2 separate regions of the Homo sapiens genome follow, and region 1 is linked to region 2. Evidence: promoter capture Hi-C in human tissues and cell types (Jung and others, 2019). All regions are on one chromosome and are shown on one strand. Each heading gives the region's core, a stretch centred on a gene start or on the middle of the fragment in contact. The rest is flanking DNA. Distances are from core to core; before and after follow the strand shown.

Region 1 (2,700 bases), core at 104-2,603, 1.9 Mb before region 2:
AGCTCCGCCTCCCGGGTTCACGCCATTCTCCTGCCTCAGCCTCCCGAGTAGCTGGCATCACAGGCGCCCGCCACCGTGCCCGGCCAACATTTTGGATCTTTTAAACCTTAAGTATTTAATGTTTTATAGGTCGATTCTTGTCTTTTTTTCTTTTCTTTTTTTTTTTTTTTTTTTTGAGACAGGATCTCATTCTGTCACCCAGGCTAAAGTGAAGTGGTGCAATCATGGCTCACTGCAGCCTCAATCTCCTGGGCTCAAGCGATCCTTCCACCTTGGCCTCCTGAGTAGCTGGGACTACAGGCGCACACTATCATGCCAGACTAATTTTTATTTTTAAATTTTTGGTAGAGATGAGGTCTCACTGTGTTGCCCAGGCTGGTCTCAAACTCCTGAGCTCAAGTGGTCTGCCTGCCTCAGCCTCCCAAAGTATTGAGATTACAGGCATGAGCCACTGTGTTTGGACTATAGGTTGATTCTAAAAGATGAAAAGTAATAAACAGCACTTAAGTTATCATGACTATGTAAATATTATTCACTGCAGAGATAAACAATGTGATGTATTTCCTGCTCTATTGTTCCAATATGACAACACTGGTAATAGTCAAAGAATGAATACAATGAATTCTCCCTGTTCCAATCTACCAAATGCTCAAAATCATGGCACATTTAAAAATATTAGCATCGCACCTTTTCTCACGGAGTTTTGTTTTTGTTTTTCCTGAAATTTTAATTACATTCCTCTCATTCTTTTTTACTGCTTTGTGTAAGAGTCTATGGCATAGATGCTCTATAATTTAGTTCACACTCCACTATTGTTGAGCATTTAGGCTGGTTTTTCATTTTTTCCTACTATGAATGATGCTTCAATGAATATCCTGCCCGTACATTTTTGTGTACATACAAATTTCTGTAAGATAAAAAGCTAGAGCTGGGTTGAAGAGAATATGCATTTTAAGAACCACTGACAAATAGCCCTCAGAAAGAGGCACTGCCATCTATATTCTCACCATCACTGTAAGGGAAGGTCTATTTTTTTTTTTTTCTTTGAGACAAGAGTCCCGCTCTGTCACCCAGGCTGGAGTACAGTGGCGCGATCTCGGCTCACTGCAACCTCCGCCTCCTGGGTTCAAGCGATTCTCCCTGCCTCAGCCTCCCGAGTAGCTGGGACTATAGGTGTGCGCCACCACTCTGGCTAATTTTTGTATTTTTAGTAGAGACTGGGTTTCACTATGTTGGCCAGGCTGGTCTCGTACTTCTGACCTCGTGATCCACCTGCCTCGGCCTCCCAAAGTGCTGGGATTACAGGTGTGAGCCACCATGCCGGGCCTGGTATAATTCTGTATAGTGTTTCTTAGACTCCTATTAATCATTTTGATTTTTGCCATCTATCTCATCGCTGTTTTAATTTTTTTTTCTTATTACTGAGGTAAAAAATCTCTTTGTAAGCTAATTGGCCTTTGGTATTTCCTCTGCAGAGCATTGATTTTTGGGGTTTTTTTGTTGTTGTTGTTCTTTTCTTTTCTTTTTTTTTTTTTTTTTGAGATGGAGTCTCGCACTGTCGCCCAGGCTGGAGTGCAATGGCGCGATCTTGGCTCACTGAAACCTCTGCCTCCTGGATTCAAGCGATTCTCCTGCCTCAGCCTCCCAAATAGCTGGGATTACAGGCACCCACAACTACGCCCGGCTAATTTTTGCATTTCTAGTAGAGATGGGGTTTCACCATGTTGGCCAGGCTGGTCTCAAACTCACAACCTCAAGTGATCCGCCCGCCTCAACCTCCCAAAATGTTGGGATTACAGGCGTGAGCCACCATGCCCTGCCTTTTTTGGTCTTTTTTAATGTTTAGGGTTCCTTATGTATTGTGAACATTAATTCTTTTTTGTGTTGAACAAGTTGTAAATATATTCTCCCAGTATATCAATTGTCTTTCAACTTCGTGGTGTCTTCTGTCAAAGAGAAGCTTTAATATTCATATAGTGAAAAAATCACTCTTTTAGGCCAGGCACAGTGGCTCACGCCTGTAATCCCAGCACTTGCGGAGGCCGAGGCAGGCGGATCATGAGGTCAGGAGTTCAAGACCAGCCTGACCAACATGGTGAAACCCTGTCTCTACTAAAAATAGAAAAATTAGCTGGGCATGGTGGCCTGCACCTGTAATCCCAGCTACTGTGGAGGCTGAGGCGGGAGAATTACTTGAACCCGGGAGGTGGAGCTTGCAGTGAGCCAAGATGGCGCCACTGCATCCAGCCTGGGCAACAGAGTGAGACTCCATCTCAAAAAAAAAAAAAAATCACTCTTTTTTTCCCTATAGGTTTTATACTTTGTGTTGCTTAAGATGGGCTTCCCTAGCCTAAGGTTAATAATCATGCTTTTCTCTGTGTTAGAAAATACCTTTATAGGTTTCTTTTTATATTTGGCTCTTTACCCCATCTAAAATGTTTTGTTTGTACATGATGAGGTAATTTTCTTCATTCTGTATGTGTGTATGACAAACTACAAATTCTCCAGCTCATGAGCAGAAAGGTGGTATGGTAACAACTTTTCCCTGCAATTCTTTTTTTTTTTCCTTTTTTGAGACAGAGTCTCACTCTGTCGTTCAGGCTGGAGTGCAGTGGCATGATCTCGGCTCACTGTAACCTCTACCTCCTGGGTTCAAGCGATTCTCCTGACTCAGCCTTCCAAATAGCTGGAATTACAAGC
Region 2 (2,700 bases), core at 109-2,608:
AAATCCGAGCTAAAGGGAGAAAAAGGACGAAAGAAAGAAAACACAGAAAAGAAAGAAATACAGTCAAGTGAAACTACGACCACAAAGAGGAACAGATCCATCTCATTTACCATTGGGGTATGGACGGACGTGCGGTGTTCGAGAAGACTGTTATTGGTCAGAGTTTTGCTCTAGAGGACAAGTAGGACTGTAACATCTCTAGGATGGGTCACTTCCCAAGCCCTCTATTACTTAAAAATTCAAGGAGGAACCGATGCTGGAGTACTTGTATCTCAGACTTCTAATCACTGCTCCTACGCTTTTCCAATATTACAACAAAAGACCAGTAGGGGGAGAAAAACGCACAGTACCGAACCCTTATCAGTAGTAATCTCAAAAGTCAACAGATTGATTTACTCTCAAGCAAACAGACTTCTAAGGTACGCAGCACCAAGACACTACCTTGAATCAAATCTATAGCCTATATGACATTTCTGAAGTCTCTGTTGGCATTACGCGAAAAATCCCCCACGTCTTCTGAATAGTTAGAATTGAATCCTACAAGCTGCTTCGAATCAGAATTCGATTTAAAAAAAAAAATGAGGGCATAGCAAAAGGTCTCCACGAAGTGAGTCAAAGGACTGCAGAGGGCTGTGACAGTGCATTCCGCCTTCGGGATGGTATACAACTTAAACCATGTCGGCAGAAGAACGCACAGCAACGCTTTGTAAAAAGCATTCTTTCTATTATAGAATCCATAACCACGCTGGTTAGCCACTGACAGCGGCGGTTAGCCACCGCACCTCCTCTCACCCCCGAACTAATCTCGTTTCCTCTATGGGTGTAAAAGTGAAATAACCCACTTGCTCCCAATATTCCTTTCTATATCTCTACCCCAGCTCGCCTGCTGCTCGTAGAAACAAATATACTACACGTACGCTGTCCTAGGATGACACAACACCCTCACTACTGCAGAAGACGGATCATTAAACAAACGTCAGAAGAGCAGCCCCAACTGTACATAAACTTCGGGCGGAAAAGCAAGACGCAGGCGCAGTAGCACATATTGTTACCCTATTTGCCCACTCCCTGCTCCTCCTCGCCTCAATTTCGCTTCCGCTTCTTTGCGCATCTGCTTCCGGGGGATTGTAGGCTCTGCCCCTCCTCAGCTCTTACCCTCTTCTGCCGGAGGAGGGGGGGGGCCGAGGGGGTGGGGAAGAGTTCGTTGTTTGTTTACACGATGTGAGCGGAAAAAGAGACCAATAAAGTTTATTCTGGAAACAAAAGGAAAAAAAAACAGGGGCGACGGAGAAAGGAGTCGGGGGCGGGGGCGTGTGGCGGGGGCTAGCGAGGAGAGGGAGCGAGAAGTAGAAAGCGGCAGTTCCGGTGCCGCCGCTGCGGCCGCTGAGGTGTCGGGCTGCTGCTGCCGCGGCCGCTGGGACTGGGGCTGGGGCCGCCGGCGAGGCAGGGCTCGGGCCCGGCCGGGCAGCTCCGGAGCGGCGGGGGAGAGGGGCCGGGAGGCGGGGGCCGTGCCGCCCGCTCTCCTCTCCCTCGGCGCCGCCGCCGCCGCCCGCGGGGCTGGGACCCGATGCGGTTAGAGCCGCGGAGCCTGGAAGAGCCCCGAGCGTGAGTAGAGCGCGGACTGGCCGGTAGCGGGTGCGGTGGGAATGGGGACCGGGTGGGTGCCGGAGACTCCCGGGCGCGCCCGCCGTGTTGGGCGGAGGCTACGGGCTGGTCGTCTCCCAGCGTCGGCCCGCGGCGGAGTTCGCCTGCGATCGCCGCACCCTCTCCCTCGCCTGCCTCTGGCCTCTCCTAGCTGCAGAGGCGAGGGCTCGCCGCTCCCTCTCCTTTCTCTCTGGCTGCCGCCTCGCTCTTCCTTTGCTTCTACTCCCAGTTTTGGGGACGGGGCGGCTGGAGGTTGAGGAAGTGCGCCCAGGGCCGCCGCCCCGGCCGCGGTGGCTCTGTCTCCCGCGCCCTGCACGCCCACCCAGCCCGCGGGTGGAGGGGCTGCCGCGAGGACTGCGGCTCAAGGGACGCGGGCGCGAAACCGCGAGCTTTTCTTGAGGGGCTGTCACGCCCGAGGACTCCGGCCCCGCCAGCCTGGCGGCCCTGCGTTTGCCTCTTACTGGGTTTAAATCGCCCGGCAGGGGTATGGAAGGAACACCGCTCCCCTCACCCCCGCCAGCTCCCCTCCCACCCTTCCTTTCGAGGTTGTTTTTTCCTTTTAGCTGAGACAAACGCTTAGATCTTTCATTCATAGACCTGAGACACTGACTCATGTGACTTGTCTCTTTACTAAGTGTATTATGTGATGCCTGTTCCATGGCTCTTAAGTGGCTCGGAAAGGTAGGGTAGGGCCCGGGATTGGGCTATGTAAACACCAGACGTTCAGCCGGCGTGTTTTTGACCTCGGCTCGAGGGGTTTATTTTAGGATGCTAAAGGAATAGTGATGGTGGCCAACCGTGTTACCAGACTTGGGAATCGAAAGCTATTTTTTTATGTCAATAATTGAGACTGTTTACATGGTTAAATAAAGGGTAGGGTAAAGGGAGCGCAACAAGAGGGTCTTTCTAGAAAACAGTCTGCATATTCTTTAATGAATTAGAGTTGTGATTTCATCTTGGTGAAGCTTCCTCATTCCAGCACTGCGCCTTTGTGCACATGCAGGACCTGGGTTTTCGGAACGATGTTTTGAATCATAGTTTGTGTGGCCGGGGAGA

The links. The method cuts DNA at HindIII sites, captures the fragments that hold promoters and counts their contacts. A contact is called where the count stands out against the background at its distance.
Region 1: a contact is called between a fragment that was not itself captured here and the fragment with the promoter of PIK3CA in region 2, in 1 of the 25 tissues and cell types used here (lymphoblastoid cells).

Annotation. Positions count from the first base shown.
Region 1 is chr3:177,233,762-177,236,461 of GRCh38, forward strand. All of the region lies in intron 2 of LOC107986053 (a long non-coding RNA gene), which reads left to right. Among named protein-coding and RNA genes, the nearest start is that of TBL1XR1, 38 kb to the left of the region's middle. The HindIII fragment of the contact is 8,518 bases long and covers 1-2,700 here.
Region 2 is chr3:179,146,999-179,149,698 of GRCh38, forward strand. It overlaps PIK3CA (phosphatidylinositol-4,5-bisphosphate 3-kinase catalytic subunit alpha), which reads left to right and starts at 1,359. Exons shown (of 21, transcript NM_006218.4): 1 at 1,359-1,605. PIK3CA-DT (PIK3CA divergent transcript) reads right to left here and starts at 975. Exons shown (of 3, transcript NR_125401.1): 1 at 918-975. RefSeq lists enhancers at 74-183, 794-913, 1,723-2,222 and silencers at 1,404-1,873, 1,934-1,983. The HindIII fragment of the contact is 8,069 bases long and covers 1-2,700 here.